Linked DNA regions of Homo sapiens: regions 1 and 3 are each linked to region 2. The links are contacts of gene promoters, found by promoter capture Hi-C in human tissues and cell types (Jung and others, 2019). All regions are on one chromosome and are shown on one strand. The core of a region is centred on a gene start or on the middle of the fragment in contact, and the rest is flanking DNA. Distances in the headings are between cores, read along the strand shown. Region 1 overlaps VWF (von Willebrand factor). Region 2 holds the start of VWF (von Willebrand factor). Region 3 overlaps LOC105369625 (a long non-coding RNA gene).

Region 1 (4,635 bases), core at 1,573-4,072, 150 kb before region 2:
CCCTGCAATCTGTCCACGAAGACTGCACATGGGTAGCCTGACCCCAAGGGTTGTCACCACGGGCAAGAAGCTGAAAGGGCCCAAGACCATGGTTCAGAAAAGTCACCAGGAGGATCTTCCCCAGAAAATGTCACTCCGAGTGCCCTCTGTGTCGGCCAGCACCCAGATATGTAACTAGGTGCCCTCTGCCGCCATCTCAGGCCCTGACCTACTTCTCCTGGTGCCTGCTTATTTCTTCTCCTTCCAGATGAGGTGTAGAAAATGCCAAACACTTGCAGCCATTCTCTTCACCCCCCACTCCTGACTCCCTGTGGCCAAATCTTCCCACTGCAGGCCTGATTCCACCCTCCAGACTTCTCCCTCCTCTGATTACTCACTCACTGAGCCTTGGCCACTGGCTCATTAAGAGGACCCATTGCCACCACCCCCCGCTGACCCCTGACATGGTTCAGCAGCAAAGCCATTGCCAACACCCAAGTCTTTTAGGTAAGATGGAGACTTGAGGTAGAGGAGAGAAGCCCAGGTCACCTTATGCTTTGCAAACACTGATGAGGGGCAGGGTGGGGTAGGCCTTGAAGGGAGATGAGAGATGGGGAAAGGGGCAGGAATACTGAGCGCAAAGGGACCAGCTCTCAGCCCCACCAGGATGGGGCAGCCCCTGATCTGAGCTGGACCTTGACCCTGGGGAGAAGAAACAAAACCTGCCTCCATCCAGGGCACATGGGAGCAGAAGCACTAAAAGGTGGGGAGGGGAGAACACAGGGAAGAGAACCCATAGGCAACTCGGACTAGAGGGGGAGGTGGAAACTCACCTGAAAAAGCCCAGTGAGTCATTCTGTTATCACTGGGGAGGAGAAAGGCAATGGGCCTGGGTAGGAGATGGGAAAGGCTCAGGACAAGATAGCAGACCTTTGGCCTTCCTCTCGAAGGGAAGCGCATTGGTCTTGCTGGGGAAGACAGAGGCAAGGCCCATATGGGCAGTTCACCTGTTCCCAGCACCAGCTCCCAAGGCTGCCAGGACTTGGCACCACCCACCTTATCCTTCTGACCAGACTGAAAGAACTGTGATTCTCCTAGCATCTGGACTAAAACCGCCAAAGACGGAATCCTCTGTGTTTAAGAAAATGGCTTGATGAGCATCAGAGTCTAAGAGAGAACCTGGCAGCACATGGGGGACAGCTGAACTGCTCTGTGTTAGAAGAAGGGACTGGCGGGGGTGAGCCAGCCAGGAGAGGACAAGAGTGGGGCAATGGGGGGCTGGCAAGATGCCCCAGCCAGACCTGCAGAAATAGCAGAGGGACTGTGGGAAATACTGTTCCTTTTCTGGGTTGTAAAGGTTTCCACCTCCCTAAAACCACCAAGGAGGTTTCAGTAGAAATCAGTGAAAAGGTCTGAGGACCCTGCCTGGGTTGATGTGGTCCAGAACAGTACTTGCAGCCTGTGGCACTTTGGAGGGGTGGTGAGGCCATCCCAAAACCAGCCCCTCAGCCACAGCACCTCAGATTCACAGGTGAATGAGAGAGCATGAATCCCCCTGGGAGGGCCCTGGGCTTCTCCCAAAATCTACAAAATGGGAAGGCTGAGGCCGTCTTAACTGGTTCCTAAGGGGCAGGTCATCCCAGCTGGCATCTGGATAACACCAACAGCTGGGTGAAATGCCCAGTGGGGAAAGCAAAGGGCAGGGAATGAGATGAAACCAAGGTCAACGCTGGTCCCTGGAGTGGCCCCAATCTGCCCTCCTCCCCGTCCCGGGGGCCTGGACCTACACTCTTCCAGGAAGACTGGGAGTCCCCCCGCGGTGAGCCAGTCACCACCTCACAGGCAGATGGCAGGCACCTTCCACAGCACTCGCCTTCATGCAGAACGTAAGTGAAGCCCTGGAAAAGCAGAAAAAACAGAGTAAGGACAGGCCAGCAGCAAAGACACAGGGGCTCTTACCTACGCCTCCTGCGTACTGAGCCCTGGGGTTGTGCCAAGTGATCACTGGTCTGGGCATTTTCATCTTTGTTGTCAACCAGCCTCAGGGCCATGCCAAGAAGCAGCAACCACCAGGTCACTAAACGAAGTCTTACATCAGCTGCAGAGATATAATTCTGCCCCCTGAAAGATCCCACTTTGAGAGAGACCATGATCCAGTCCATAGGAGCATTAAAGACAGCCCAGAGTTCCCTTAGCAGCAGCTTACTAATCTGGCCCTTATCATGGCCAACTCTAGGGACCCTCACTGACCGGGAGGCACACTCAGGATGACTGGGATCCAGTCTCCACTCTCGCAGGGCTAGCCTCCCATACAAGACGAACACTCGATCCCAATACTGCTCACCAACGTGCAGATTTGGGCTTCCCCAAGAGGTTACTTGACATTTACCTAGTAATTTATAGGGTACGGTGTTCTTTACAAAAGAAAAGTGAGATGAGAGAGCAACAGACAAAGCTTCCCCAGAAAGCATGCCAGGGAGACCAGCATCCTGGAAGTTTGTCAGCCCATCTTGCCTCTAGAAGGTCCTCCAATCTGGCTAAAGCATCATGAACATGGACTGAAACCCTCCTCTGAAAAGTCTATAGAAAGAATAGTCAAAGCAATGACAGTGTGTTTGTCCCAGGAGCCAAGAGAAAAGAACCCAGGACTACGTTCCATCTTGGAGCTGTGTCCTTAAGAGAGAAAGAGTAACCACAGCTGTTCAGGACGGGTGTGGATGGCAGCCTGCTCTGCTCCCCAAGCACTCTCCCCAGCAGGGCCGAATCTGAAGATGCACAACACGTGTGCCTCTCTCTGGACGGTCTCAACACTCCTGAGACTTGGCTCAACCCCACCCAGTCTCCACGAGACCTACTGATATCACCGCCCACCTCCCAGCAGTGTGCAGTGAGCTGTCTCCAGGCTTTTATCAGCCAAGATTCTAGTCATTTACTGTGCACCTATGATGTACTAGGTACTACGGAGGAGACAACAAATTAGGATGCCTCAATCTGTGTACACACCCTCCAAGATACAGCAGAACATTCAAAATGCCATTAAAGAAAAAAAACAAGGTCTCAGGGGGTCAGAAACAAAGACTCAAAGAACACAGAAGACAGTAATTAATACCTTTAGGGATCTGCTGTCATTCTCGTACGCCTCTCTAGAAGGCTGAATGATCGAGATTCGCATATTATTTTTGTTTCCTGTTGCCTCTCACCATGGGCAAACAGTGTCAATATTACGGATGGCTCCCAGGCCAGATGTCTGTTCCCACAGCCCCACTAGCTTCTCAAACCCAGACACTTTTAGCCATCCCTCCAAATTTCCATCTTTCTAAGATTCCCCTCCATACCCCACAGCAACCCTGTTTTCTGGCTGCACAACCAGGGTCCAACCTATATTTTTCAATTCTTTATTTTCCCTTCCTCCAACAAATTCCCTCGCTTATATCGACATTTGATATCTTGTATCAAAATACACATCCCAGGCCCTTCTCCTGGCTCTCTTCTCCACCCTGTTTTCATTGGTTTCCCAAATAAGAATGAAACTAAGTAGGTCTACTAGCCACCCAACCTGAAAACATATGCACTGAAAAATAAATTATGAATGTATCTAGCAGCACAATCCTTTAAGCACAATTGCTATAACTGAAATGGAGGTGGTAGATGCCAAGCTCTGGTCACTTGTCCCCTCTGAGGCAATCTGAGGAGCACAGTTTGAAAAGCTGACTTCCTGGGTCAGACTGGCCCTTGCAACACTGGAGTTGCGGGTTGTACCAGCCTAACAGGACGAGCTCTGGGCTCGGGTCAGGACCCTCCAGTGTCCACAGGCTTCATATAAGCTACAGAGGTTCTGGCCAACCCCATTCCCTGGGGTGGCCCTGTTTCCTGTCTGATACTGAGAAGAACAGCCCTCCCTCTTCTTCTTCCTGAGGAGTATCACAGAGTAAATAATATCTAATGGACTTCCTTTGGCTTCTCAGAATACAGTTCCTACACCTTGACTGAGCCTCATTCAGGAGCCTACGGGTGAGGAGTCAGATGGCCATCAGGCTTCATGGAAAATCCCCTCAAAGGCTTGTACAGAGGTGCAGGCCTCCTCTCACTATGGACATGGAAGCAAGGCCATCGCCTGAGGCCCGCTTAGAACATTCCTGAGAAGCCGCCAATGCCCCTGCTTGCCTGCCACCATTCCTCTGACACGAAGAGCAGAGAACTATGGAGGAGCTTGGGGAAAGTGTGTTTCTGCAGACTGTGGCTTCAGGGTGATGATGGTAGTGTTGTTCTTTCTTTTCTGTCACAACCTAGACAACACATGGACCGGCATATATGAGCCCAAGTGCCTCTGAGGTCGGACCAGAGCTAATAATGCTAACAATACTACCCTCTTTGCAGAATGAAGTCTGAGACCATCTGTAACTTACTTAAGCTCCCACCTCACTCAACACAGTACAGATCGAAGCCCAGCCTCCCACGTCCCCTGAGATTTTAAACCATGAGGCTCCCTTCTCCTCCCCAGAAGATGTGAACATTCAGCCTCTAAGACAGGGCACTCGATTCCCTAGAGCAATCACACGGTCAAGAGTTCTAGACATGGTTCCTCCTCCACTCCTGCCCTGACCTCCCTACTCATCTTCTTTTTGAAACTTCCCCCAGCTTTTCTACGCAGCCAGG
Region 2 (2,583 bases), core at 84-2,583:
CTTTGAACATGGACTTCTGGCCCCCGAAAAAACCCCTGGCCAGTGCCAGGCCCAAGGGTAACAATCGCTGTGAGCTGGGACCTGTGGGCACCTTTCCACAGACAGCAGTCCCAGGCCCAAGACAGGAGGAAAACGCTGCCTTCCCTCCAGGCCCGCTGGGCCTCACATCCCTGCCTCCTGAAGCAGCTGGGAGCTAACACACACCTCATTCCTTCCTGCCTCTGCATCCAAACTGGCGAGTAGGAACCGTCTTACACTTGTGTGCCCACCACAGCAGCCCAGACATAGAGAATGCTCAGGAACCACCAACTTGACGGTTTGCTTGTTGGCCCCTGACTCTGTACCACAAGTGCCTTCACAAGAGCAAAGGCTGTCTCCCTTGCCTCCAACCCCAGCACCTGGCAAGATGCTTAGCACCCAGGAGATGCCCAGCAAATGTTTGCTGAGTTCATCTGAAAAAATGGACAGGAGTCCAGCGGCCCTGGATGCAGGCAGACTTCCCCACTGTGTGACCCCCAAGAGAGGGACAATTCATCCTGGCTGGCAGAGCGTACCCCAAGTCACTTAGAGCCCCTGCTGTAGCCCCTCTCCTCGGGAAAAGTTGTTAAATGAAGTGCAGAATCTGCTGCCTGAGATTCACTGGGGGTGACTCCCTTCCTACCTAAGGTCCCATCCAGCCAAAGGTGAAATCAAGCCAATCTGTGATACATCTGTGGAAGGAACACTGAGATGTCAGATACTGCCAGGTCTCGGTCTCCAAGCAGGTGTCCCCTCCCAGTCCTAACACGCAGGTACATTCAGCTGCTCCCAGGTTCTCAGAGGTGAGGGCAAACTTCATTCCAACTCATTTGAGTGAAGTACTATCAAACAGTAAAACCCACTGCATGAAGAAAAGCAGCCCCAGGACCCTCAGAGGCAAGTGGAGGAGGGAGTATTAGGATCATCCCTGGCTGAATTGAATTGCCCCTCCAAACAAAGCCCTTCTAGTCCAGCGACAGAGAACTCCAGCTCCCCAGGAGCAGGGATCAGTCAGTCCTGCATCTTCCTCCCACAACTGAGCCAGCTCTCCTTCCAAAGGCCATACCTTCCCCTGCAAATGAGGGCTGCGGCTATCTCCAAGGTCCCTGGGAAACTCAGCTGCTGGACAATGGTGCCGCCCACCCTAGGCCATGCTCTCAGCTGCTGCAAAGGCTCAATCAGGTCTGCTACAGCTCCGGACTGTCTTGCTGTTATGTAGCCCAGGGGCTGTGGAGTCCCCACTGCTGGGGGAGATAAAGCCCAAGCTGTGACATCCACCAACCACCCTCCCTTTCCCACCACAATAGCTGTGAGCTGCCACAACAGGGGATTGGCCTCCTTTTAATTACCAAAAGGAAACAATGAAAGGAAATGGTATTAGAAGTACCTCCAAGCTGATAAAGCTTTGTAGAGTTTGGAGGGAGACCTCCTGGCAGCTGCCTTAATTAACTGCCTTGCCCTCCCCAAACACCCCCTATCCCTACACCCCCACACTTGATCCCTGGTCTTCCTAGAGTGCCCCACCTGTGTGGGATAACCAGGAATGCTGGTTGTTTCAGGGCAAGCTGATACAGGCCAGGGGGAATCACAGTAGAACAACACAGCTTCCTGATCCAGCTTCCAGGGCTGGACTCCAGGGAAGTTGAGAAAAACACCTCAACCTGAGCCAATTTTGCTGCTGTGTTTGGAGGAAGGGGAGTACTAACACTTCCTATGCACCCCAGGTATGAAGGATCCGGTCCTGGCCCTGACAAAAACAGTCCATTTGGATCCTGGCCAGGGTTGAATGGATCGGCTAAAGATGAAGGTCTTGGCCACAAGCCTAAGCCTTTGTAAAATGGTGAAGGTGGGGAGTGATGGTTTGAGTCTAATACTTCTACTGTTGCTACATTCTAATAATTCTAATTCTCAAGGACATTTCCACCCACTTCTGGTACCCTGATCTTACACACACACACACACACACACACACACACACACACACACAATTCTTCTTCCCAGCCTCCCATTCCCAAAAGCCTAATTCTCAACACCATCTGCTAAACTAATTCCTACTAAAATAAGTAACTGATGCAATGGGCAGCGGTGGGGGGAAGATGACTCTCGTGCTGGGATTCCAGGCACTGAGACAAGCACCCTGAGGCATGTCTGGGTATGGAAGACCTCCTCACTGCTTCTCCATGATACCTCCTGCCCTAAGACTTTGAGAAACCACTAGGTTCCAACCTCCTCCCTTCCCACATACCTCGCACTCTGCTACTCCCTTTACCGCCCCAGGAGAGGAAGATGCACACTCCCAAGGAAGAAAAATGGCACCAGAGGCAGAATCAGCATGAGACAGTAGAAAAGGCCATTGGGGGGCCGGGCACGGTGGTTCACGCCTGTAATCCCAGCACTTTGGGAGGCCGAGGTGGGCGGATCACGAGGTCAAGGGATCAAGACCATCCTGGCTAACATAGTGAAACCCCGTCTCTACTAAAAACACAAAAAATTAGCCAGGCGTGGTGGCGGGCGCCTGTAGTCCCAGCTACTCGGGAGGCTGAGGCAGGAGAATGGCGTGAACCC
Region 3 (4,572 bases), core at 652-3,151, 140 kb after region 2:
CCAGCCTGGACAACATAGGGAGACCCCATCTCCAAAAAAGAAATAGACAAAACAAAACACAACAAAATGGATAGTAATAGTACCTGCCTCTTTGGGTTGTAGTTGGGAAAATTGAGTTAACACATCCAAGTGCTTAGAACAACAACTGACACAAAAGGTTCCTTAAATGTTCAATTAAAATATATGAAGAAGCGGCCGGGCGTGGTGGCTCACGCCTGTAATCCCAGCACTTTGGGAGGCTGAGGCGGGTGGATCATGAGGTCAGGAGTTCAAGACCAGCCTGGCCAAGATGGTGAAACTTCATCTCTACTAAAAATACAAAAAAATTAGCTGGGCGTGGTGGCATGCGCCTGTAATCCCAGCTATTCGGAAGGCTGAAGCACAGAATTCCTTAAACCTGGGAGGCGGAGGTTGCAGTGAGCCAAGATTGCACCACTGCCCTCCGGCCTGGGCAACAGAGCAAGACTCCGTCTCAAAAAAAAAAAAAAAAAAAAATATATATATATATATATATATACATATATATACGAAGAGGCTAGGTGCGGTGGCTCACGCCTCTAATCTCAGCACTTTGGGAGGCCAAGGTGGGCGGATTACCTAAGGTTAGGAGTTTGAAACCAGCCTGGCCAACATGGTGAAACCCCATCTCTACTAAAAACATAAAATTAGCCAGGCGTGGTGGTGCATGCCTATAATCCCAGCTACTCAGCAGACTGAGGCAGGAGAATTGCTTAAACCTGGGAGGCAGAGGTTCCAGTAAGACAAGACTGTGCCATTGCACTCCAGCCTGGGCAACAAGAGTGAAATACTGTCTTGAAAAAAAAAAAAAAAGCAAGCACATATGAAGGGGCCAGGCATAGTGGCTCACACCTATAATCCCAACACTTTTAGGAGGCTGAGGTGGGTGGATCGTTTGAGCCCAGGAGTTCAAGACCAGCCTGGGCAACATAGGGAAACCTTGTCTCTACAAAAGAATACCAAAAAAAGCTGGGCTTGGTGGCTCATGCCTGCAATCCCAGCTACTGGGGAGGCTGAAGCACAAGAATCACTTGAACCCGGGAGGCAGAGGTTGCAGTGAGCGGAGATCACGCCACTGCACTCCAGCCTGGGTGACACAGCGTAACTCCATCTCAAAAAAAAAAAAAAAAAAGGCCAGTAGTGACCTGTATTTGCACCGCTGCACTCCAGCAGAAGTGGTTTCAGGTGCCCAAGAGCAGGTGGCGGAAGGCAGGTGAGGTGGAGAGCAGATGCCCATAAACAGGCAGGTCCATGTGGGAGGGAAGCTCCAAGAGGAGATGATGCCTTCAGCTGGGAATAGGGAGGTGGCTGGGAGTAAGCAGAGAAGGCCAGACACATCCTTAAGGGAAAATGGATGAGAAGCTTTTGAATCTGTCTGGCTGACAATAACCGCTCACCGCCTAGGACTAGACAATTCACAAGACAGTTTCTTAACACGTCCTTATTCCAACCTCAACAGCCCCAGGGAACAGGCTTGTCATTCCTCTTTGTGGGAGGGAAACTGAACCGGAGGGGGATTAAGGCCCTGGGCTTGTTCGTGGGGTCTTAGACCTAAAACCAGGTCTTCCAAGTGAGGCTGTCCTGCAGGTCTCACATGCACACGCACACACACGCACACACATACACACATGAATACACACACACCCTCCCAAAGGGTCCCGGGCCCTGCTCACTAACCCCCTCTCCCGCTCGGAAAGGTGCCCTGGAAGGCAAGTGGCAGAAGTGACTTTGTTGTGGGGATGATCTCAAACCTGCTCTCACTGGGGGGAAAGTTAGTTAATTATTCACAAATGAAAAAAACAAGGTACAGGGTAATGGGAATAATATGCTAACATTTGGGTACTAAATAAGGGAAAGGAGGAATGTGTACAAGAGTGTTTGCTGATAGGTGCACAAAATGTTTCTGGAAGGATGCCCAAATTCTGGTAAGGATGGCTGCCTCAAGGGAGGGAGCTGCCCAGAGGGAAGGAAGGGGACTTTTCAGCGTGTACCCTTCTGGGCCTTTGGAAATTTGATGTGGTTACAGAAGCAAATATGTGCTTTAAAATACACGCAAGTGCTTTGGTTATGATGAATAACAGATTACTTAAAACACACCCACGACTGAGGTATGTTGTCATGTCATGACTGAAAACCATGTTCCCCCCTGGCCCCTCCTTTCCCTCCCCACGGTTCCAGTTGTGGGAGGCCACAGGCCCGAGCGTCATGATCCTTGTGAATGAGGGGGGGCAGACCACATCAGGCTCTGCAGCCTAGACTGTCCTGTCTGCCTCTTTGGGTGACCACAATCGCACCCACTCAAGCTAGACTGGAAAAGAGGGGAGACCAGGAGCCGTGGCTCATGCCTATAATCCCAGCACTTTGGGAGGCCGAGGTGGGTGGATCACCTGAGGTCAGGAGTTCAAGACCAGCCTGGCCAACATGGTGAAACCTCATCTCTACTAAAAAATACAAAAATTAGCCAGGCGTGGTGGTGGATGCCTGTAATCCCAGCTACTCGGGAGGCTGAGACAGGGAGAACTGCTTGAACCCGGGAGGCAGAGGTTACAGTGAGCCGAGATTGTGCCATTGTACTCCAGCTTGGGTGACAGGAGCGAAACTTCATCTCAAATAAATAAATAAATAAAAATAGGGCAGTGGAGCACAGGTGTGGTCCCAGCTACCGGGGAGGCCAAGGCAGGAGGACTGCTTGAGCCCAGGAGTTCAGTGAGCTGAGATGGCACCACTGCACTTCAGCCTGAGTAACAGAGCAAGATCCTGTCTCAAAAAAACAAAAGAGTATAAACTCAAAAATACACATCAGTGTAGTATGGGAAGTTAATATTTTTAAAAATAAGATAAAATAATAATAAATTAATTTAAAAGTAATAAAAAAATTTTTAAAACAGCACGGGATTCTTGTCCAGAATTGACAACACAAAGGGACTGAAGCGTTCCAGGCCCCAGGAGCAGCCATGCAGCAGGCCTCTTAATTCAGAGAGCAGACAGCGCTCAGGCACCCATGCCAGGCCCGAAATGGTCATCCCTCTGGTGGGCTACCTCTTTTTCTGCTTTTTCAATGTGTCTTCCTGCTTCTGCCCCCTCTACCAGGAGGCCCAGCTCATCACATCGCTCAGACACCAAAGCCCCCCAGTGACCCCTGGTCAGCTGTGGTGGGGCTGCCCTTGGGCAGGGTGCCCAATGCTGGGCCAGTCAGCTGAGGTCAGAGGGGACAGGGCCATGTGGGTCAGGACAGGAAATGCCCACCCTAGGAACGCGCAGCAGGGAGCCGGGAGAAGCTCAGTTTCTCTCAGAGGGGGCTGTAGGCGGGGCATTCATGTGGTGGACAAAAAACCTCCAGGACGCCTTCAGTCCAGCAGCCTTAGTTCACCTCTCCAGGCCAGCCTGGCCTCACCTGACCTCCAGGCACTGCCTTCCCTGGATGTGTACTTGCGAACAGAGGCGAAGATACCTTCCCCCATCTAAGAGCCAGGAGAAATATCACTGATATTTGTTACAAGGGAGAAGCCCCAGCTTTATAAATACCTGCCTACAAAGGGCCCTCACATGTACCCCTCCTCCCTTCCCTCCTCGGCCCCAGCCTCTGGCAGCCACCCCACTTGCTGCCTTTGCCAGGGCTCCAGCAGTAGTGAAAATATTTGGAGATTTTGGCCAACCCACGAAGCAAAAAAAAAAAAAAAAAAAAAAAAGAGCAAAATAAACCACCAAGAAAGCATGGGATTTTAAAATCAGAAAGACCTGGATTTCCTTCTACCTCTGCCACTCGCTAGCTTTATGATCTTAGATCAGGCACTTAACCTCACTCAGTTTCTTCACCTGTGAAGTGGGAGGGACAACACCTAATTCACAAGGTTGTCAGGAGAATGAAAAGCGAAGATATACATGACAAAGCCAGCCCACTACGGGGCACACAGTACAGGCTCACAAATGGCTGCCCCACCATTCCCTTTCTCCTTACATTTTCTTTCTTTTTTTTTTTTTTTGAGACAGAGTCTCACTCTGTCGCCCAGGCTGGAGTGAAGTGGCATCATCTCTGCTCACTGCAAGCTCTGCCTCCCGGGTTCACGCCATTCTCCTGCCTCAGCCTCCCGAGTAGCTGGGGCTACAGGCACCCACCACCACACCTGGCTAATTTTTTTTGTATTTTTTAGTAGAGACGGGGTTTCACCATGTTAGCCAGGATGGTCTTGATCTCCTGACCTTGTGATCTGCCTGCCTTGGCCTCCCAAAGTGCTGGGATTACAGGCGTGAGCCACCACGCCCGGCCCCCTACATTTTCCTTTCCTGTCCTCCTTCAGCATCGCAGCCACACTATATTCCTCATTAATCCCATATATTACTCAGGACTCTTGCTTGCAAGTGACGGTAAACCTTATTCAGACTGGCCAATGAGTGAAAGGAAAGTCTTTGGCTTTGTGGACCTGAACCATCCAGGCACACTGGGCTCCAGGGTACACACGGTACCACCAGGGGTTGGTCTGGCTTTGGACATTTACCAGCTCTGCTTCCCTCATTTTCAGGTGTATTCTTCCTTCATTCATTTATCAAATATTT

The links. The method cuts DNA at HindIII sites, captures the fragments that hold promoters and counts their contacts. A contact is called where the count stands out against the background at its distance.
Region 1: a contact is called between a fragment that was not itself captured here and the fragment with the promoter of VWF in region 2, in 2 of the 25 tissues and cell types used here (H1 embryonic stem cells and spleen).
Region 3: a contact is called between a fragment that was not itself captured here and the fragment with the promoter of VWF in region 2, in 1 of the 25 tissues and cell types used here (neural progenitor cells).

The regions. Positions count from the first base shown.
Region 1 is chr12:5,969,833-5,974,467 of GRCh38, forward strand. It overlaps VWF (von Willebrand factor), which reads right to left. Exons shown (of 52, transcript NM_000552.5): 44 at 1,767-1,877. Among named protein-coding and RNA genes, the nearest start is that of ANO2, 27 kb to the left of the region's middle. RefSeq lists an enhancer at 1-348. The HindIII fragment of the contact is 8,398 bases long and covers 1-4,635 here.
Region 2 is chr12:6,123,337-6,125,919 of GRCh38, forward strand. It overlaps VWF (von Willebrand factor), which reads right to left and starts at 1,334. Exons shown (of 52, transcript NM_000552.5): 1 at 1,085-1,334. The HindIII fragment of the contact is 10,588 bases long and covers 1-2,583 here.
Region 3 is chr12:6,265,398-6,269,969 of GRCh38, forward strand. All of the region lies in intron 2 of LOC105369625 (a long non-coding RNA gene), which reads right to left. Among named protein-coding and RNA genes, the nearest start is that of PLEKHG6, 43 kb to the right of the region's middle. RefSeq lists an enhancer at 3,438-4,183. The HindIII fragment of the contact is 4,977 bases long and covers 1-4,390 here.